Regions from separate parts of the Homo sapiens genome. Here regions 2, 3 and 4 are each linked to region 1. Evidence: promoter capture Hi-C in 16 types of primary human blood cells and fetal thymus (Javierre and others, 2016). All regions are on one chromosome and are shown on one strand. The core of a region is centred on a gene start or on the middle of the fragment in contact, and the rest is flanking DNA. Distances in the headings are between cores, read along the strand shown. Region 1 holds the start of LINC01949 (long intergenic non-protein coding RNA 1949). Region 2 overlaps LOC101929380 (a long non-coding RNA gene). Region 3 overlaps RASA1 (RAS p21 protein activator 1). Region 4 overlaps LOC101929380 (a long non-coding RNA gene).

Region 1 (5,795 bases), core at 2,404-4,903:
AGGAAATATTGAGAAAATATTAACTAATTTATAGATCTCATTCAAATTTCATTATTTATTTCCCTAATGTTTTTATCTGATCCACACATTGCATTTAGGTGTCGTGTCTCCTTGGTCTCTTCCAATCTGTAAGAGTTCCTCAGTCTTTCCTTGACTTTCAGTTCCCTGTCTTCCATAACTTTGATACTTTTAAAGATAACTGGTCAGGTTCGTTTTTGTTTTTTCTTGTACTCACTGACAGCAGATGGTCAGGTATTTTGAAGAATGTCCCTCAGTATGTGTTTGATGTTTCCTCATAATCACATTCGGTTTAGGCATTTTTTGCAAGACTAGGACAGCAGTCTTTCTGTCTTTCTCAGTGTGTCATAGTAGAAGACACATGATTGATACATCTCAGTACTGATTATGTTACCCTTGAGACACATTGATATCATGTGCCCCTTGACATTATTCACTGAGAAAAGGCACAACATGTTCAGACATGCTCTTCTCCTTTTCATTGGCTGAATGTTTTTGTTTAGAGTGACCCTGGAAGTTATCTGTGGTAGATAAAACCTCCTTCAGATTGGGTCCCCAAATGATTGTGTGGAGCAGAATCACCTCCAGCTTCACCCACTAACTTAGAGTTATGTTGGTCTGTTCATGTGTAAGAAAAACAAACTTTTATTGTGTTTGAGACATTGTACATTTTGGTTCTTTTCACCCTCTTCAGCTTCCCAAAGTGCTGGGATTACAGGCAAGAGCCTGTAGAAGAGTCATTTGCCTACTTCATTACATTACCTAGGATTAGTTAGATTCACTTCCCTGCTGGGGAAAGCACTTCATCCAAAAACATTTCTGTGATTTTCTTCTCTTTTATTGATAGTTGCTAAGTCTGTCTCTGTAGCACACATCTCCCATCAATATTTCTATTTAGTTCGTTTCAAACTCAAGTACCCTGAAATATTTTAAGTTTAACATCCCACTCCTATCTTTAATTGTACCATATTTCAAGTTGTCATTAAGAACCCCCAAATTCATCTTTTTTCACGGTATTTAATAAGATTTATCAACATGTTCACCAAGTATTATTTTTTACAGACATTGCTTTTTGCATTCTGCATACTTCAGCAGTTATTTTAAAGAGGGTCTGCAAGTGGTACATTCTGTCTTATTCTGAGAAATGTTTATTTCACAATACATCTTGAATGATAGTTTTGCTCTTTGAAAATAACTCTTTTCTAGTATCAAACTTGTAAAACTGAAAATGGATTAAATTCACCTGAAAAATACAGAGATTCCCAGATTGGATTAAAAAAACTAAGTTTAGGCTATATGCTTTTTTAAAGAATCACACCCAAAATATAATAATCTCAAGAGGCTGGGCGCAGTGGCTCTTGCCTGTAGTCGCAGCAGTTTGGGAGGCTGAAGCGGGTGAATAGCTTGAGCTCAATAGTTCGAGATCAGCCTGGCTAACATGGTAAGACCCCATCTCTACTAAAAATACAAAAATTGGCCAAGCATGGTGGCACACACCTGTAATCCCAGCTACTCTGGAGGCTGAGGCATGAGAATCACTTGAACCCAGAGATGAAAGTTGCGGTGAGCCGAGGTTGCACCACTACATTCTACCCAGGGCTACAAAGTGAGATTTTGTCTCATAATAGTAATAATCTCAAAAGACTGAAATTATATCAGGTGCTCAGATAATGTTACTTTGTTATAATGTTGATGGGAAAAAAAATTAATTCATGGTTGAGGCTAATGTCTTTGTGAAATTTGCACCTTTTCCCCATGTCTGTGTGGATTTTCTCCAGGTACTCCAGTTTCTTCCCACATCCTGAAGATGTGTATTTCAGGTGGGTGGGCATGTGTCAGCGATCTCAGTCAAGGTGAGTGTGGGTATATGTATGAGTGTGCCCTGTGTTGGGATGGTGTCATGGCCAGGGTTGCTTCCCACCTTGTATCCTGAACTGCTGAATGGGCTTTGGCCTCCTGTAACCTGAACTGGAGTAAGTGGGTTGGAAAATGAAAGAATAAATGAATACAAATTATTATAAGATAAAATATAAAGTATTTGATAATCATACAAATGCAAAATAATAAGAAATGTTGTATGAAAGTGCTTAGAGAGTCTGCCTTATTGAATATTGTTTGTTTTTGAACTGTGTGTTGGTAGGAGGTACTCCTGACAATTTTCACTTTACAAACATTTATTTCTTGATTTAACCTACCACCAGGATGACGGCTGTCACTCACTGATTCACCAAAAATTGGACAAATTGCTTACTTATTTTTGTTGATTTTTCTTAAATGTATGTATAGCTTACATTTATATCAATATTCAACATTAGAAGTGTTTCAAGTCTTCACTTAGAAATTTGTTGATGTTTTTGTGATACAAATATGCCATAGGAACTAATTCTTGTTTATATTAATTAGCCTATAGTAAAACTGGTTTTGTTACATGGCATCTCACTTGAAGTTGAAGTTTCCAAGACCCTATCAACAACGTTGAGAACTTACTGTCATAGGTTGAAAAACTGTACACCAGGAACCGGACCAAAATAGATCTGACAGTAATATTGATATTAGAAAACAACTTTAAGTCTAATAATGATTTTTCTCTAAAGAGGTTGATTACTTCATGATAGAAGGATCATGTCACCATGATGACACAGACTGTTAGTGCACATCAATATCCATTTTGTCCTCTTCTTTTTTGGCATACAACCAAAACTTACATAGGCTTTTTATCATTTTACTGGGCCTATGTAACTGAGTTTTAGCCAGTGGAATATGTCCAAGTGACATTTGCCACTTCTAGGTCTGGCACATTAACACTTGATGTATTACATTTCAGACCCTCTTATCATTCTGCAGTGTGTTTGGCGATCTGTTGTTTAAGATCTATATGCACTGGTTACTGTTGCTTGCCTTCCATTCCTACCCTTACTAATCAGATTCCTATTATAGCTACTTCTGTCCTTGATTCATTTTGTATATTAGATGTGTGTGTGTTCATGTGCATGCATGCACCCTCACATGTAGGTGTATATGGGAGTGGTGGTAAAGACAGGATATTTCTTCAGTTCATGGGATTTTATTTCAGGAGAATTCAAACATTCACGTATTGGAGAAGATGACACATTTCTTGAATGTCTTGGGCTTTGAGCTGAATGCACTAACTAGAAGGGACTTCAGATTGTCCTCCTTCGGGGGAGGTAAGTATATTCTTCATATACAGGTAAGAGTGAAATGATAGAAGAATGTTCCTCCTCTCCTTTTCTTCCTGGACAACAGATCAAATATTTCTCAGATCTTTTACAGCTGAATTGGAGTCACATGGACAGGTATGATCTTAAAATATAAAAAATTATTTTAAAATTACATGCTAAAATTTTATAAAAATAAATGCTAAAACTAACTTAAACGGAAGCATTTGATTAAAAAATTTATCCAAAAAAGTTTGAATTTTATATGAAACAGGATAGAAGATGAAAAAGCTAAAGAAATAAAATATAAATAAATTATGGCTGGGGACAGTGGCTCACACCTGTAATCCCAGCACTTTGGGAGGCTGAGGTGGGAGGACTGATTGAGGCTAGGAGTTTGAGACCTGTTATTTGAGGCACATGGGAAGGAAAGTTTTCTTTGAGATATTCCACATTTTATAATATTCTTCAAGAGATTTACAGAGTTCCTTGAGTGAATTGTTGGTTTGTTCTTAATACTGAATTTCCTATTCAAATTTATTTAGAAGTTCATTTCTTACAGTGATCTCATCTCCTATTAAGATATTCTTCAAGGTAGGTTCTTGGCCAGTTTCTCAATGACAGATTTTTAAAAATATTGTTAATCTTTTTATTAATATGAGAACATAATTGTTCCAGATCTGGAGGCCATCCTTTAAGCTTCTTGCAACAGTCTGGGAGCAAAGAGTTTACTCGCCACTGGGTAGTGGGCCATGGACACCCCAGTCTCCACCAGAAGTTCGGGATTGCAAAATGGGACTCTGGCAGCAAATTTCAAACTGTATGCCAGACCTGGCCCTTTGCAGGTGGGCATCACTAAAAATTTAAATTACCAAAATTGACTCAAGAGTAAATCTATGTCTGAGGAGAAAGCCTTTGGAAAAATTGAATTAGTAAGCAAAAACCTACCCAAAATAAATAACAGTAAGTCTAGAAAATTTTACACAGGGATTACCAACAAACATTCAAAGCACAGAAAAATCTCTTTAGCACAAAATGCTACAAAATACAGAAAAAGAGGAAAATTCTGTAGTTTCTCTCATGAAGTTAATATATTCTAGTTAGCTGAACTAGAAAAATAAGAGAAAGAAAAATTATAGGTTAATCTTCCTTATGAGTACATGCAAGTATCATAAGATGTTGACAAATTGAATCAAGCATTTTAAAAAATGCATTATGATCAAATATGATTTATCCTAGAAATAATGTATGAGAGTTATAAAATTCCCATTAACATTAGGAACAAGCATTAATACTTATTATCTCCACCAATAATCATCATTGCTCTGGAGTTCCTAACCAATGAAATAAGAAAGAAATAACCAGTTATATGGATTAGGGAAGATCAAATATTGATTATTTGAATATTTTTTTTTATAGAAAATCCAATAATTGTACAGCTGAAGAACTGGAATAGGAGAGTTAAGCAAAGTTTCTACATACAAGAGCAAAGTGGTCAAATCAATAGGTTATCTGTAGGCCAGTGCTAATTACATTGACATGGTGGCCTTAAAATTTTTACATGCAATTCATAAATCAGTTTCACTGATATTACTTTACCAGATATTGATATTCTAATGTTGTAATTATACAACTGTATTATTGTGTCAGAAATAAAATTAATAGACCAACAAAACAAAACTCAGAACAGATTCACATATTTGATAACTTGGTGTATGACAAGTGTGACATTAAAATTCAGGAGTAAAATAAAAAAATAACAAATAATGCCGGGATAATTGGTTAGTCACATGGGAAAAAGTCAGAAAGATCTCTGCCTCACTCTATTTACATGGAATATACTTCAGATGAAAGAAACTTAAATACAAAGAGCAAAACTTTAAGACTTTTAGAAAAAGATAGGAGAATTTATGACTTCCAGTAAGGAAAGCTTTCTTAAGCTAGATGCAATGGCATAAACGACAAAATGCATTTTTTTTATAACATTAAATAAAACATGTGTTCCGTAAAAGACACCAAAATACAATTAAGAGATAAGTTACAGTGTCTTAGTCCATTCTGGCTGTATAAAAAAATACCATAGACTGAGTGGCTTAAACAACATTTATTTCTCATAGTTTCTGGAGGCTGAGCAGTCCCAGTCAAAGAGAGCCCACTTTCTAGTTTATAGACCACCATCTTCTCACTATGTCCTCACATGGCAGAAAAACAAGATGGCTCTCTGGAGTACTTTTTACAAGAGCACTAATCCTATTTATGAGGGATTCACCCTCATGATATAATCACTTTCCAATGGCCTCAGATCCAAATACTATCACTTTGGAAGGCAGGATGGGGGTGGGAGGATTGGATTTCAACATAGGAGTTTTTTGGGGACACAAACATTCAGTCCATAGCACACAGACTGGGAGAAAATATCTGTGATGCATACATCTTACAAAATAATTCATATCTAGACTATAAAGAGCTCCTCAGGTAGATAAGAAATATCAAAAGAGAACAAAAACATAAACATAGTTCACAGAAGAGGAGACTCAGATGGCCATAAATATATGGAAAAAATGCTTAACCATTTATCATGAAAATGTGAATGTGAACCAG
Region 2 (5,795 bases), core at 1,498-3,997, 96 kb after region 1:
GGATAGGAAGACTCGATATCATGATAATGGCCATACTGCCCAAAGTAATTTATAGATTCAATGCCATTCCCATTAAACTACCACTGACATTCTTCACAGTATTAGAAGAAACTTTAAAAAAGTTCATGTGGAACCAAAAAAGAGCCCAAATAGCCAAGACAATCCTATGGAAAAATAACAAAGCTGGAGGCATCACACTACCTGACTTCAAACTATACTACAAGACTGCAATAACCAAAACAGCATAGTACTCGTACAAGAACAGATACATAGACCAATGGAACAGAATAGAGAACTCAGAAAACTTCAGAAATAAAACTGTACACCTACAACCATCTGATCTTAAACAAACCTGACAAAAAGAAGCAATGGGGAAAGGATTCCCTATTTAATAAATGGTGCTGGGAGAAGTGGCTAGCCATATGCAGGAAATTGAAACTGGACTCCTTCCTTACAACTTATACAAAATTAACCCCAGATAGATTAAAGATTTAAATGGGCTGGGCACGGTGGCTCACACCTGTAATTCCAGCACTTTGGGAGGCCGAGGCGGGGAGATCACAAGGTCAGGAGATCGAGACCATCCTGGCTAACACCGTGAAACCCCGTCTCTACTAATAATACAAAAAAATTAGCCAGGTGTGGTGGCAGGCACCTGTAGTCCCAGCTACTTGGGAGGCTGAGGCAGGAGAATGGCATGAACCTGGAAGGCGGACCTTGCAGTGAGCCAAGATCGTGCCACTGCACTCCAGCATGGGCGAGACTCATTCTCACAGAAAAAAAAAAAAAAAAAGACTTAAATGTAAACCCCCAAACTATAATCACCCCGGGAGAAAATCTAGACAATACCATTCAGCACATAGGCATGGGTAAATATTTCATGATGAAAACCCCAAAAGCAATTGCAACAAAAGCAAAAATTGACAAATGAGATCTAATTAAACTAAATAGCTTCTGCACAGCAAAAGAAACCACCAGAGTAAACAGACAACCTACAGAATGGGAGAAATTTTTTTCAATGTATCCGTCTGACAGAAGTCTAATATCTGGAATCTACAAGGAACTTAAACAAATTTATGAGAAGAAAACAAACAATCCCATTAAAAAGTGGGCAAAGTACATACATGAACAAACACTTCAAAAGAAGACATTCATGTGGCCAAAAACATATGAACAAAGCTCAACATCACTGACGATTAGAGAAATGCAAATCAAAACCATAGTGAAATACCATCTCACACTAGTCAAAATGGCTGTTATTAAAAAGTCAAAAGATAACAGATGTTGGTGAGGTTTTGCAGAAAAGGGAGCACTTATACACTGTTGGTGGTAGTGTAAATCAGTTCAACCATTGTGGAAGACAGTGTGGTGATTCCTCAAAGCTGCTGTGGCAGAGATACCATTAATCCCAGCAATACCATTACTGGGTGTATACCCAAAGGAATATAAATAATTTTGTTATAAGATACACACACACGTATGTTCATTGCAGCACTATTCACAATAGCAAAGACATGGAATCAACCTAAATGACCATCAGTGATACACTGGATAAAGAAAATGTGGTACATATACACCATGAAATACTATGCAGCCATAAAAAGGAAGGAGATCATGTCCTTTGCAGGGACATGGATGGAGCTGAAGCCATTATCCTCAGCAAATTAATGCAGGAACAGAAAACCAAACACCGCATGTTCTCACTTATAAGCGGGAGCTGAACGATGAGAACACATGGACAAATGAGGGGGAACAACACACACTGGGGCCCATCAGGAGTGGGGCTAGGGGGAGGGGGAGCATCATGAAGAGTAGTAATCGATGCTGGGCTTAATACTTAGGTGATGGGTTGATCTTTGCAGCAAACCATCATGGCACACATTTAGCTATGTAACAAACCTACACATCCTGAACATCTATCCCGGAACTTAAAAGTTGAAGAGAAAAAAAGAATAATATTTTCAAAGACCCAGAATCATGAAAGAGTATGGCGTATTATGGATTAGAAAGATAATTCTATGCAGATGATGTTACAGTAGGATATGAGAAGAGGGGAGTGGGAAATGAAGCAGGGGAAGAAAGCAAGTATGGATTACCTTTGCAGGCTATACTTACTAAATTAGAGAGTGTTACAGATTTTACTAACAGAGTTACTTTTTTTTTTTTTTTTTTTTTTTTGAGACAGAGTCTTGCTCTGTCGCCCACGCTGGAGTGCAGTGGCACGATCTCGATCTCAGCTCACTGAAACCTCCGCCTCCCAGGTTCAAGCGATTCTCGTGCTTCAACATCCTAAGTAGCTGGGATTACAGGCATGCACCACCACGCCCAGCTAATTTTTGTATTTTTAGTAGAGACAGGGTTTCACCATGTTGGCCAGGCTGATCTTGAACTCCTGACCTCAAGCAATCCACCCTCCTCAGCCTCCCAAAGTGCTGGGATTACAGGCATGAGCCACCATGCCCAGCTGACTGAGTTATTTTTTGATGACAGCTAATTATTCTGTTGACTAATAGGGGATTGATATGAATATACTCTTTCCATTGATGGCAAAATTATGCCAGTGCTAGGGTAGGGGCAGCTGAATCCAGCAGGGACAAAACCAAATAAGGTACAGAGCTGGTCACAGTTTCTACTACATAGATTTGCATGTGATGTACATCTGTGAATGTTCTTAACTTACTGGGGGGTTTGGAGTGTGTGTGTGTGTGTGTGAGAGAGAGAGAGAGAGAAAGAGAGAGAGAGAGGCTATTTGGTTCTGTAATTGATATAAAGAAAGGTGGGCTGGGGTGGAGTATAAATCTTGGAACTCACTCTGGTATTTGAAATTCTTAACTACCTCTCTGCTCACTATTACATGGACAGTGTTGTCCTTCATGTTCTTGTGAGAAGTGAGTAATAGGTATAACATGTGAAGGTTTCTTTCACGCTTTCCTCTTGTAGTAAATGAGTATTTTAGTTCAAGAGAAAAAGGGATGCATAGAGGAACAGGTGTAATAAATAAAATCCTTAAGAAAAAGTCCTTAGTTTTTCTCAAAGGTTTAATTTTTTTTTCTCAAAATTAGTCAGCATGGCAGACTGGTCATGGGCTTTAGTAGGCAGCTTTAAGTATTCCTGTTCATTTCATTGTCCCACAGTCATAAGGTGACAAGAGGGCCCTCAGTTACAGAGTAGAGGTGGAAAGAGTCATCTTAATTATTTGGGGAAAGGATGGTCAATATCATGTGTAACAGGCTGCAAATAAAGACCTAGAAAAGCATTTGAGGTCTTGTTCCCATCCTTGACGGTCTCAGTGTTACTTCTGACAGGACGACCAGAGTGTAGAGTCTGGGGCATTCTCTAACTCAATTAAAAGTAGAAAACTTAGTATAAGATGTGTATGTGGGCAGAATTAATAGTAAGAATTGGCAGGGCTGGGCGCGGTGGCTCACGCCTGTAATCCCAGCACTTTGGGAGGCCGGGGCCAGCGGATCATGAGGTCAGGAAATCGAGACCATCCTGGCTAACACGGTGAAACCCCGTCTTTACTAAAAATACAAAAAATTAGCCAGGCGTGGTGGCGGGCGCCTGTAATCCCAGCTACTCCGGAGGCTGAGAAAGGAGAATGGCGTGAACCCGGGAGGTGGAGCTTGCAGTGAGCTGAGATCGTGCCACTGCACTCCAGCCTGGGCGACAGAGCGAGACTCGGTCTCAAAAAAAAAAAAAAAAAAAAAAAAAAAAAAGAACTGGCAGGACCTTGTCCGCCCTTCCCTTCCTTCCACTGTAATCTGATCTGTAGTATCTTTTCTATTGTTTTCCAGTACAAATCTAAATTCTTTGTATCTTATAGTATCTTAATATTCTGGACTTTGGGTGCCTTTATAAGAGGTTAAATTTTAATTTTCTCATAACTCAGTACAGTAAATATCCCAACTAGTGTAAATATCTTTAGCTTTGTGTTGAAATTTTATTTTTTAATTCCATGCCCAATATTATCTTGTAGCAGGTGCAGATTCTGTGCTTTCTGAATTCTTTGTGAACATAAATCCCAGTGGAGATATGTTTCATTCCCTGCATACCATTGTTCTGATAATGATGCTTATAAAACAGAGAGAGATACTTTCTAGCCTCCATGGCTAAGTATACATTTCAAGAAAGCCCAGTGTTCATCAAGAAAATGTGGAACTGCCTACAGGTTTTTGTGGATATATGTGTATGGTTTTGGTTAAGTTTGCTGGAGGTAAAAGCTGCCTTATTTATTGTAATCCACTGGCGTCAGTACAGTTCATAGAAAGGGTATCACACCGTGAAATTGTTATATGCCCCTTTCTGTGCTCCTGGGATCATTTAGTTGTTAAAACATAATTTAAAATGATAATTGCTGGAAATGGGCATGATCAGGGAAGTATTCCAGAGCAGCCTTGCAAATAAATACATAATATTTATAAGCACACTTTGAAAAACCTATTTTCTAGACTCCATTTAAGAAATATCTAGGTGAGGGAAAACGGATAAAATGAAATCAGTATTTTCTACTATTCATTTAGTCTGTGTCAAAATTTTCCAGAAGCAAGCGATTGTTTGCCAGTAACAGAATGGTGCCTTAATGCTTCTCTTTCTCTCTCACTTCATTCCTCCCTTCCATTCGCCTGCCCTCTCTCCCTCCCTTCCTCCCTCCCTCCCTTTCTTCCTTTCTTCCTTCCTTCTGTCCTCCCTTCCTCCCTCCCTCTCCCCCTCCCTCCCTTTCTCTCTCCTTCTTTCCCTCTCTCCCTCTCTCCTTCCCTTCCTCTTTTTGTTAGTGCAAATTGTGATGTGATTGTGGAATCTCTGAGGACAATGAATGTCATGTTAATAAGTTCATCTTTAATATACGATGCAAACTGCTGCACAGTGAGAAATTCTGTCTATATAACTCACTCTGGAAGGTTTAGAAAGTTGCATACCCATCCTAAAATAAATCTAGGCATAGTAAGTTCCTGCCAGTTATTCATGAGAAGCACGTTGGGATTGTTAGACTTATCTCTGAAGAATAGATGGGTGCTTCTCATCCCTATCTTGACTGATCTTGCTCCAGAGCTAGCGTCTCACATTTCCAATTGCTGCTAGACAGTTTCTTGTGAATGACCTTTTGTTGCCTAAAATTCTGCATGGGTAAAGCTAAATGTTAAACATGGTTTCCTTGCTTACCTTAATCTACTAATGTGTCTATTTTTTGTTTTCTTCACTCAGTCAGTTGCCAAAATCCATCAATGTTTTCCTTTCCCCATTTCCTGCGGTCCTTCTCATCTCCACTTCCCTCTTTCCTACTGCCCTTTTATCCATTTGTGCCTTTATTTGCCCATTGTACATTAAGTGTGTTCTCTATGTAGATCTTTGGGTGTACAGATATCCATAAGGCAGCCACACAGTTCTCTCTTTGTCTTGCTTTTTTACTGATAGAACAATTTAAGAGTCTTCTAACTAAATCTTTGTTTTTAATATCCTTTATCTTTTTATTATTCTCTTCCTACCAACCTTCCATTCTACACAATTGTTGCCAAATTAGTTGATGGAAGGTTTTTCTATCAAATTTCCTTTGAATAGGTCACTCTTCAGTTTTTTTAAAAAAATGCTTACTTGGTCTTTATTTTCCACAGGAAAATAGAAGTGGTGTAGGGGCATGGGAAGTACTTCTTTCCTCCCCATCCTCAAGCCAAGCATTCAAGACTGTCCTCAAGATGAGCCCCACCTGTCTTTTCAGTATGCATCATTCATCTTAAGTTTCTTCATAAGCTTTTCACCCCAGTGGCACTGATGTGTTCACTACCTTCTGAGTAAGC
Region 3 (5,795 bases), core at 257-2,756, 90 kb before region 1:
ATTTGTTCTAAAAGCTCAGTCCTAGTCATCTCATATATAAATCTCTTCCATTTCTACCCATCTCCCTACTTCCAGGATTGCCTGCTATTCAAAATATAAACACTACTGCAACCAGATCTTTACTTAGAAAAATAAAAGATAGACAAATGGAAATGATTAATTTACTACCTCGATCTTATACTGAGGAACCATGACTTCACAAGGCACATGGAACCTATGAGAATATAAAATGTTTTATTCCATTTTAGTGTTTGTGCCCTGCGACAGGAAAACAGAATTACACTGTCTAAAGGATGCTATTTTAATTTCCTGTTTGAACGTGAAGCTGATTAATCCCTTTGGCTCTAAGATAATCTACTCCATGACTATACATTTTACATTTGCACTCAACTTTCCAAATTTATGTAACAAACATGTGGGAGAATAAATAGCACCTTTGTCCCTTCACCCTTCTTGCTCTCAGTTTAACTGTGTTCTACCTACATACTATCAAATGATCTACTTAAGAAACTGGCTGTAACTCTAGCATACCAAGTATGCCTATAAAAGCCTCATGGACTGATATAAACAGAAACATGCTTAGAAATATACTAGAAGTATCATACAGGCATGGTAACAAATCTCCAAAGTAATTGCTATAAAATATTTTTACATTTGATAGTTTAGCCAAACTCATCCTTAGATACTTACAGCCTAATTTGAAACATCCAGAGAAAAACAATAAACATTCATATTACATTGATATATTCAATTATGTAACATAATATAGTACTTCAGCTTTACCAAAGTTTATTTGTAATCTTATATGTGTAATAATGTATGTATTTTATATAATATATAAGCCAATGATAAAAGCATTATGTTACTATGACTATTTTTGTAAGCTTGTTGTAATAAAAGCCCATTATTTTTGACTCCTTAATTTTTAAAAATAAAACAAAAACACAGAAACTTAAAACTTATGGAAAGAATTACTTTTAGTTTTCTTCTAAAACCAAGCTATTTATTTAGAGCCCTATGCATAAGGCTGAAAATAATGAACTTATTTATAGCGTTCCATTACGACTTAACAAACAAAATATAATTGTAACCTGTTAGTACTAGAGGAAGAAGGGAAAGAACAATCAATACTGCATTCCTCTAAAATCCTAATCTTAGTTCAGCCATTATCTTTGAGACAAATGACAAGTAAATTTAACTTTCAAGAGCTCAGGGACTTTTTAAATCTGAAATGGAAAGTTTACACCAGAGATCGTAAATGAACCCTAAGGAACTATAATTTAACGACATAAGAGAATAAAATTTTGAAATTTCAGGCTATGAGTTTATTTAGTTGTGAAAATATATGGGATATCCTTAGGTTATCCTTAGAATATGAAACTAGTGCATTCCTCATTACTTAAAGCAGTAGAACTATCCCAGAGAGCAGATTTATATACCCAACAAAGATAAAATTAAGGACAATTTTTAAAAATCTCTATTTTTATATACTTGTTATTTGTTAAATTTCTGTTATGTCTTAGGTAGTGTCAAGATGAAAAAGGTTTTTCTTTAATCTCCTTCATCTTTTGAACTTACCATTGAAATGATACACAGAGATACATGAGGCATTACACAATTACTACTTTATAAGAAATATCCAACTTATGATTTTAAGTAATATATATGTTTATTTGTGGTTTTTAGTTGTTTTTGTTTTGTTTTGTTTTAAGACGGGAGTCTCACTCTGTCGCCCAGGCTGGAGTACACTGGTACGATCTCAGCTCACTGCAACCCCCACCTCCCAGGCTCAACCCATCTTCCCACCACAGCCTCCCAAGTAGCCGAGACTGCAGACACATGCTACCACATCCAGCTTTTTTTTTTTTTTGGAGAGACAGAGTTTTGCCATGTCACCCAGGCTGGTCTCAAATTCCTGGACTCAAGTGATCTGCTCACCTCAGCCTTCCCAAGTGCTAGGATTACAGGTGTGAGCCACCACACCGAGTCGATTTTTTACATCTATGTACTTTCTAAGATCTGAGCATTAAAATGGATAAGTCAGTTCAGGAGAAAGACATTAATCTAAATAAGTAACTATTTCCTAAATGTTAGCAATTTCCTTCATGTCAAAAGGTCGTAAGCTTCAAACACATAAAGCAAAACATGTCAATTCTTGATTATGACTATAAACTGCAATTAAATTATCCAGCCATCAGCTTGTAAATATTTACTTAGTTGATTTGATCCTTAAATGTTTTATAAATAAATCACAATAAATCCAATGTTACAAGATTTGATTCAGACACCTTACAGATTTCTAGAACCTAAGTAAAATACTATATAACCTTTAAACACCAGTCCTTGGGTTTACTCAAAAACAGTATTTCTCAACCATTTTTTAACCCACAATCTTTTATATAAATATAAAAATTTTACCCTACTGAGAGATTCAGAGTCCCTAAGGTGGCTGTCCTGCATAGAGAATCATATATTCTAATTAGCCCCAGTAGCCAAGAAAATGCTGTCTACCTTAACTTTCTGAAGTCTGTAATTCTTTTTATTTCAGGTGGGATATGGCTTTACAAAACATACTCTCAATAACAAAGATATAACATTTCCCAAGAGTGAACACTTTGGGAGTGGTTATTTGTCTAAAATACTCAATTTTTAAAAATGCTACACTTTCTGCCTCTACAAATAGTCACAGCAATAAAATTACAAAGAAATACAAGAAAACATATTTAATCAACCCCACTATTACTCTTAAGTCTTCACAGTCAAAGCCTTATTATATCTCTTTAAAAGTAGATTTGCTGGTGACCGTTTTCAAATAAGTTTAAAAAAAAATTCAACTGGAATCTAGAATACCTCAAAGAAACATAAGCATAAGAATCATACTGGTGGTATGAGAATACTCTGAGTGTAACATGAGATTACTAAACAATAGCTCATCATCTAAGTTAAAGTTTATCAATCTGCTCACATTTGTGGCAATTATAACACAGAATATACCTGGCACATAGCAATAATAAGTTTTAAAAGTATTTGTCCAATGAAAGAAGAAGTGTTGACTCATAAAACAATGTTGAAAAATACTTTATAAGTCATCTAGTTAAACCACCATGCCAATGTAAAAAACAAAACAAAAACTTTTCTTTTTTAACGTCCACATAGGAAGTTCTCTCTCTTTTTTTTTTTTTTGGGAAACGGAGTCTTGCTCTGTTACCCAGGTTGGGGTGCAGTGCCATGCTCTTATGGCTCACTGCAACCTCCGCCTCCTGGGTTCAAGTGATTCTCCTGTCTCTGCCTCCCAAGTAGCTGGGATTACAGGTGTGTGCCACCACATCCGGCTAACTTTTGTATTTTTAGTAGAGACGGGGTTTCACCATGTTGGCCAGGCTGGTCCCGAGCTACTGACCTCAGGTAATCTGCCTGCCTCGGCCTCCCAAAGTGCTGAGATTACAGGTGTGAGCCACTGCACCCAGCCAAAAATTCTGACATGTGAAAAGAATGTGAAAACAGTTTAGGCTGACAGAACTCAAAGAAGTATGATTATGCTGACACTCCCTGAGCTTGTTCAAAAGAGACAATGCATACTAGCAGAAGACCAAGACTTAACAGAAACCCAAGAAACCTCCAATCTATGGCAATGCCACCCTAAACATACCAAATCTCGTCAGAAACTGTCTCCACAGTTACGGCCAAGTCTTTACATTTTTTATGTCGTTACCATCACTTGTAAATTAGGGAAATTAATTTCTATCTCAACCTCAGAATAAAATTAATGACTTGTACTAAATTCCTTTAAAGAAAAATACAAAAATGAAAAATACTACATAGGCTTTATAGTAGAACGGTTAAAAGACTCTAGAGTCACTGTCTTTGAATCCCAGCTCTGCCACCTAGCTGCGCAAATGTAGGCAGATTACTTTATCTCTGAGCCTCAGTTTCCTCATCTATAAAAGGAATATAATAGTGTCTACCTCAGAGAATGTTGGCTTAATATTATTATTAAATGAGCTAACACATATAAAGTTGCTTAGAAGAATACCTAATGGATACCAAGAACCCAGTAAATATTAGCTTAATTAATATCAAACCAGTATCACAGGGGAGTAGAGGATACTCAAAGGATATGGGACTGATTAATAAACTTCTTCAAAAAAACTAACAAATTTTATGACTGTTGCAAAATGGGTGATCAATCTGTGAATCATCTTAGTCTCAATTACCTATTTTCCAGTCTTGTTTACTTTCCATCTAATTTGGGGAAGAGAACAGGAGAAACCAATCTTTTTTTCTACTAAGGCATTAATTTTAGGAGGAAATTTTCTCAAAACTCTTTTTGAACATTATAGAGCATTCAAATTAATTGGGGCTGCAAGTGCCATACTATTAATAAACTAGAAATTCTATTTCACCTGGCAACTCTAGAAGGAAACCCCCAAAGAGCCCCCATTCTTTTCCCAATGTGTGTATATTTTGGGTGTTGGGGGCAATATAAAGGATAGTATGTACTTGAGATACTATGACTTAAAACTGCTTAATGTAACACATTAATAATAAAGCATTTAATGTTCTCCTATTTTAAAAGTAAATCTCCCTCTCTCTTCTTCTTTGCCTCTCTAAGGAAGATGGGGAAAAGGAATAGCAGGAGGAAATTCAAGAAGTACATACATGTCTTCCCAGCTAGCTTTGTAAATTTTTGTTGAGAAATCTTACAGGTAGATATGGAGTCCCTTAATTTCATTTTTTTAGAAATACAAATCAATTTACATACAATATCATACATCTAAGATGAAACTGCATGTTAAAAAAGTGAACAATTAAAAAAAGTCACAGAAATCACTCTATTTTAAATTTGGAATCACATGAACATTTTTTATAAATGTGTGCTGTGGCCAGGCGCAGTAGCTCCCAACTTTATAAACCAGCAATTTGGGAGGCTGAGGAGGGGACTGCTGGAACCCAGGAGTTCATGACCAACCCAGGCAATATGGCAAAACGCCATCTCTACAAAAAATACAAAAATTAGCCAGGCATGGTGGCACATACCTATGATCCCAGCTACTCGAGAGGCTGAGATGGGAGGATAGCTTAAGCCCGGGAAGTCAAGCCTGAAGTGAGACAAGATTGTGCCACTGCACTCTAGACTGGGCAACAGAGAGAGACCCTGTCACAGGGGAAATAAAAAAGGGGGTGGGGGGCTGCTGCATATTGCTGGAACACATCCGAAGGGCCTTAGAGGGGCCTTTGTGTTTTATAATCTGTCTCACTTGATCAGAGAAAAATATGGAAATTTGTGCAATGAGAAAATATCCTAGTGTGAATACAGACAGGCATTTCATTGAAACTATACAATTATTTACAACTAACTTGACAATCCCAAATGAAAACTGTCTACTACACAACAGAAAACCATTAAAACAGTGCTAACATCAATAGAGTTCCTTTTATAAAAAGAAAACTAAATTGAAGTTACCAGCAGATTACTTTTACTTTCCACTTGGTTTTTCCTTTTGGTTATATTACTGACAGGCACCAAAGTAGCTACAGAGAAACATACATGCAGAAATCCAATTGCCAAGAAATCTTTTGCATCTGAATCACTTGGGACTCTGTGTGCCTGATCATACTACAAACTTCTGAAGTTATTCTACAAGCCTCAAAATGCTAATCAGACTTTGTTACACACGCTTGTGTCTTCTAAAACTAAATTGGTGATTTCAAGTTGGTATGCATTTGCTAAAACATAAAAATCTTCTTAAGCTCCCATATTTATTTGTAACAAATATATTCTTACTGTCTGTGAT
Region 4 (5,795 bases), core at 1,708-4,207, 76 kb after region 1:
ATATCACCAAATTGGTGAGTGGGGGTAGTAAAAAAAAAATATGACTGTCATAGATTTGCAGATTCGGTTTCCAGATTCCAGCAGTGCCTGCCGCTTGTGATGCTACTACAAAAATAACATCATATTTTTATATTGAGGCCATTTTTTAAAAGACTTTGAAAATGTATAGGCTGGGTGCAGTGGCTCACGCCTGTAATCCCAGCACTTTGGGAGCCCAAGGTGGGTGGATCACAAGGTCAGGAGTTCAAGACCATCCCAGCCAAGATGGTGAAACCCCGTCTCTACTAAAAATACAAAAATTAGCTGGGCGTGGTGGCGGGTGCCTGTAATCCCAGCTGCTCTGGAGGCTGAGGCAGAGAATTGCTTGAACCCAGGAGGTGGAGCTTGCAGTGAGCCAAGATCACGCCACTGCACTCCAGCCTGAACAACAGAGCGAGACTCCGTCTCAAAAAAAAAAAAGAAAATGTAGCTAATGCCATCATCCCACAGGTACTACATGAGTCAAGTGTTTTAGTAGCTATTAAACCACTGTCAGATTTACCTGAATTACATAAAAAGTAGATGCCATATATTAATAAGTTATATCACTTATTTATAAATCAATAGAACCAAATATGGCAGTAAAACAATAAATTTAGTTTAGTGTCTTTGTTTGTTTTTTGAGACGGAGTCTCACTCTGTCACCAGGCTGGAGCACAGTGGCGTGATCTTGGCTCACTGCAACCTCCGCCTCCCAGGTTCAAGCGATTCTCCTGCCTCAGCCTCCTGAGTAGCTGGTAATACAGGCACACCCTACCACGCCCAGCTAATTTTTAAAAAATTTTTTTATTTTTAGTAGAGATGGGGGTTTCACCATGTTGGCCAGGATGGTCTCGATCTCTTGACTTCGTGATCCACCTGCCTCGGCCTCCCAAAGTGCTTGGATTACAGGCGGGAGCCACTGCGCTTTACCAAATTTAGTTTTTAAAAACCTGATCGAGAACATAGGGCAAATATTGTGTAGCTATACTTTCTTTTACTTAAATAAATCAATGTTTCTGATTCTTCTGTGGCTGTATTGATTGTCAATTACCTAAGATCCTAGAGCATCAGTTCCCTGCTCACTCTGATTTCTTTTCTACTCGGTTAAGTTTACAGTATCTTAACTAGGGTGCAAATGTCTAAAAAGACCGTGGATAACCTCACATTGTTCACACTATACCTGGAATTGCTGTTTTCTATTCATTATCTAAACCAGAACATTGGGGAGATATAGTATATACCTGTGGATTTACTTTTAGTTTGGGAAAGCAAACACACTCTTGTCTGTTAGCAAAGGAGCTGCATCCTCAATACTAGAACTTGCAAGTTATTCCCCTTTGGAGAGCCCAAGAGAAGGGAACTTAGTCCAATTACTTCTATTTACTCACAAGACAGTTGAAGTAATCCAAGTCACAAAACTTGTTAGAAACCTGAGTGAAACCAAAGCCCTGTGCTTCCATTTCCAGTTCAGTGTCTTGCCCCTTCTTCCACTGTAACATATTTACTTGAATATATGAGGTATTTACTATACTTGGTGTATAGATATGTATGCCATTTTAGGGGTTTTCAGACAAAATTAAATTCACACTCAATTTTTTTTTGCTATCATAAATGCAATAGCAGTTGAACTTATAGCTGAAGGAACACTTGACAATATTCTCTTATTCCTCTTTTTTATGTGTAGAGGGAAGGAAAAGATTCCATTAGATGATCTCTATTGTTTCTTCTAGTTTTAATATCCTCTGAATCCATGAATCATCCTAGTACACATTGGTATGCAGCAAACGGCAAGAGGTATGTCTTTGTAAATTTAAGTTGTTGATATAAATTCCTGTAGTGCACATTTACTACTGAAAGCATAGAATAAGAATAACCACCACAGCTTAAATGAGTATTTATTCTCCCTTTACTGTTGCCACACTGCATACTCTCCTGCCCCTACCATTTCTCCCCTTCATTCCCTATCAATCTGTGTAATGCGATCAGTCTGTAAATGCAAGGTAGTAGAATCAAAAGAGCACAGGCTTTGTTATAAGACAGACATAGGATTTGAATCCAGGCTGTGCAGCTTTGAACCACATGCTTAATCTTCCTGAGTCTCAGTTTCTTCCACTGTAATAGAGGTATACTAATATAGACCTGAGAAGATGGTTAGTAGGATTGGTGACCACGTAAGATGCCCAAACAATGTTGTGATGATAATAATAAACGATCACATTCTTATTATTATTACAAAACAAGTGTTTTTCAAAATTTGCAGTGGGGAGAGGTTAACAGTTTATGTGTTCCTCAAAATTAACTGGAGGTGGTCCCACTTCACTGCCCCCCGCCCCCCACAACACTCCATTTGTAAAAGTGTCACTTTTCTTTTTGTTTTTATAATACCCTAATCTGCCTAACTGCAGGGGACAAATTTAGTTTGCTGTTATTAAAAAAAAAATCATTTAGAATGCAGTTCTACTTTGGTAGACTTTAACATTACTGCCAGCAAGTCCCATTACAATCGTGTCTGCTTGAATATCTGAAACATCTTAAGATTTAAAAATTATTGTTCTGTGTTACAAATATAATAGCTTACATTGTAAATGAGTTCTCACCAGTTTTAGATGAAAGTATGATGGGACAAAATGTTGGATTTAGTTAATAATCTATAATTGTGGTTAGTTTATTTAAAATGAAGGCCTAATATTGAGATGTACCAAGTAGGAAGAAGAAAAGGGATTGAATAGAAAATAAATTATGAAAGAAAAGTAAATCTCAAACAATGACCAGTATGCATGGTAATCCTACATTAAAAGTAGGTAGAGTGAAGAGAAATAATATAAAAATGGTGAACTACCTGGGAGTAAAAATGTCTTCTAGAAAAATATATGTTAATTCATTTTTCATGGCTCCTGTTTTATAAGATTAAGGTGACTGCACTGACTACAATCTTTAAAAAATTATTTTACTAGCTATCAAAAGTAACTTAGGTTCATAGTAAAAATTTCAGAACGTATGAGAACTAAAGAGAAAAATAAAGATTGGTCCCAAGATAACTTTTGGTATCTTTCATCAGTTCTTTTTTCATGCATCATGCATATATGATATCATTTGTTTAATAAAATTTGGACATTAGTATATAAACAGTTTAAAACCTTATTATGGAAAATCTTTTTCAACTTATAAGAAAGTAGAAAAACTGTATAATGAAATCCCCATATGCCTAGCAACAATTATTAGTCTTTGGCCATCTTGTTTTATCTATACCTTCTTCTAATCCTCCAACCCTAAATTATTTCAAAGCAAATCTATATGATCTATTATTTTCATCCATAAATGTTTTAATATGTTCCTCTAAAAGATAACTCTTCTACAAAACAAACAAAAATATGAATATCAAACATTAACAAATTAACCATGATTCCTTCATATTATCAAATAGCCACAGTATGTTTTATTTTTTAAAATTTGGCTTCTGTTTGACAATATCATGGCCATCTTTCACTTGCAGTGTAAAAGTCTATTGACTACAACACTGAAGTAATTTGTATTGCCAAAAAAGTGAGTGCCAATTTTCCTACATTTTATCTCAGGTTGGATTTTAATCTTTCTTTTAATCATTGTCAATTTGACAGATTAAAAATAAAAACTTGTTTTCATGTTTGTTGTCCAGTTATATTTTTTGTTAATTGCTTTTTTATGCCTTTTACTTCTATTGAAGTGTTTATTTTTTCTTATTGATTTGTAAGCGTTCTTTACAAACCTGTGTATTTCCTCAAATTGTTCATACTCTGGCTAGTCTTGGTATAATTTTACATTATGTTTTCTATTCATTTACTAAGCCAGAACACTGGAGAGAAAGTTTATATTTGTGGATTTATTTGTATTTTGGGGAAACATTATTTTCCCAATTGCCTTCTAAGCCTAGTCATAATGCCCTCTTCTCTGTTACGAAGTGGAGATTAAGTTAAGCCTTTGTCATATACGTTTCAAATATTTTTCTCGTCATTTATTTGTCACCTTTGTTCACAACAGTTATTTTTCTCTATACCCAAATTTTCCTATCTTAAGATGAGCATAGGTTACAAATTTTCTTCTTATACTTTTATCATTTTATTTTTCATTTTAGAAACTTAATTCAGGCCAGGTGCAGTGGCTCACGCCTGTAATCCCAGCACTTTGGGAGGCCGAGGCAGGCGGATTACGAGGTCAGTAGATCGAGACCTTCCTGGCTAACACGGTGAAACCGCGTCTCTACTAAATACAGAAAATTAGCCAGGCGTGGTGGCGGGCGCCTGTAGTCCCAGCTACTTGGGAGGCTGAGGCAGGAGAATGGCGTGAACCTGGGAGGTGGAGCTGGCAGTGAGTCAAGATTGCACCACCGCACTCCAGCGTGGGTGACAGAGTGAGACTCCGTCTCAAAAAAAAAAAAAAAAGAAGAAACTTAATTCAATCTTAAATTATTGTAATATAAGGCATGGATTAGATTTTAATTTTACCTTCATCCCAAAATTGCTAGCTAAGTGTTCCACAGCATTTGAGTATACCATCCTTTTCCCAATGATTCAATGTGTCTTCCTTATCATCTAATTAAATATTTTATATACTGAATAATTTAAAAACACACATGCATATTTAAAAGTGTATATGTGTATATATAGTGCAAGTAGGGACCTAAGTACATGGGATAAGTCTTAAACGACAGTGGAAAGAAGGCAGTCCATATAAGTTTGATGGAGTACTTCACTGAGCACATATGCAATAAAAGGAAACCCTAAATATTTTTAGAGAACAAGCAATGAAAAATATTTTAAATGGAGGTGTAAAAAGATACCTGTGAGCTGTAAATTTTGCCCATTTCACAAATATGCTGAAGACTTATTCATCAGAGAGCAGACCTAGCTCTTCCGAGCTTACCTATGTGAACAATCCCTATACCTCTCATTTATTTAACATTTATTTGGTCCTTACTATGTGGCAGGCATTTTGCTGCATTCTGGTGATACAAAAAAGCATATGATTCAGTCCATGCCCTTAAGGAGTTCATATTTTCATTGATGGGACTTTTTATATTGTGTTGTAATTGTCTGTTTATGGGCCTGATTCTCTTCCTGGGCTATGACCTTCCTCAGGACAGTGTCCATGGTTTATTCATGTTCAAATCCCTACTGTTTAGAATAGTTATTGACACATCGTAGCTGCTGATCAATGAGTATTTGTTGAGTTCCCTGGGAGCAGAATCCCATTATTTCCAGGGTCTTTCACACTCAAAGCCTTCTGCCACAGGGAGATAAGAGCCATCTATGAAACATTCATTGCTGCAAATCAGTGACTTTTTCTGCTCTGCTCAGGCTCCTTCCAATGTTGCCATGTCAGATGACTTTTCTTTTCTTCTACAAATCCTCTTGCTATCCTTCTCTATCCTGCCTTTTTCCTCCCGGGGTTGACTTGTTTCCATTATATCAATAGTCTCTAGCCCCCCGGTCTTCTGGTTGGGTTTTGCCAGTGGAAAGCCCTAGTAGTAGATGGCAGGGAAGGAATAGAGAGAAGATATGATATTTACTTCCGTGTGAAGTTTTCTCAGGCTGGCTATGTTCACTCCACAGAAAGTCTTTAGTCCTTCCTCTTAAAGTAGCTTGCTGTGATACACTCTCCTCTTCTATCAACTTCCAAATCTTCCGAAGCCTATGGCGGTAGTGGTAGATGGCTAGCAGCTAATAGCTCTGGGTTCTTTTTAATTTCATTTTATTTTTCATAAGGGAATCAATCCTAATAGCTCTGGGTTCTTAATG

The links. The method cuts DNA at HindIII sites, captures the fragments that hold promoters and counts their contacts. A CHiCAGO score of 5 or more calls a contact.
Region 2: a contact is called between a fragment that was not itself captured here and the fragment with the promoter of LINC01949 in region 1, in 3 of 17 cell types (M0 macrophages, M2 macrophages and M1 macrophages). The highest score is 9.8, in M0 macrophages.
Region 3: a fragment that was not itself captured here is called in contact with the fragment with the promoter of LINC01949 in region 1 in 1 of 17 cell types (M0 macrophages); the score reaches 7.1 in M0 macrophages.
Region 4: a contact is called between a fragment that was not itself captured here and the fragment with the promoter of LINC01949 in region 1, in 3 of 17 cell types (M2 macrophages, M0 macrophages and M1 macrophages). The highest score is 7.3, in M2 macrophages.

The regions. Positions count from the first base shown.
Region 1 is chr5:87,237,059-87,242,853 of GRCh38, reverse strand. LINC01949 (long intergenic non-protein coding RNA 1949) reads left to right here and starts at 3,653. Exons shown (of 3, transcript NR_130914.1): 1 at 3,653-3,788; 2 at 3,873-4,039. The region is part of intron 2 of LOC101929380 (a long non-coding RNA gene); the gene reads right to left. The HindIII fragment of the contact is 4,009 bases long and covers 1-3,895 here.
Region 2 is chr5:87,140,007-87,145,801 of GRCh38, reverse strand. All of the region lies in intron 2 of LOC101929380 (a long non-coding RNA gene), which reads right to left. Among named protein-coding and RNA genes, the nearest start is that of MIR4280HG, 21 kb to the right of the region's middle. The HindIII fragment of the contact is 6,007 bases long and covers 1-5,750 here.
Region 3 is chr5:87,325,357-87,331,151 of GRCh38, reverse strand. The region is part of intron 1 of RASA1 (RAS p21 protein activator 1); the gene reads right to left. It also overlaps a transcript of CCNH not described here. Among named protein-coding and RNA genes, the nearest start is that of RASA1, 60 kb to the right of the region's middle. The HindIII fragment of the contact is 1,239 bases long and covers 887-2,125 here.
Region 4 is chr5:87,160,618-87,166,412 of GRCh38, reverse strand. All of the region lies in intron 2 of LOC101929380 (a long non-coding RNA gene), which reads right to left. Among named protein-coding and RNA genes, the nearest start is that of MIR4280HG, 41 kb to the right of the region's middle. The HindIII fragment of the contact is 7,822 bases long and covers 1-5,795 here.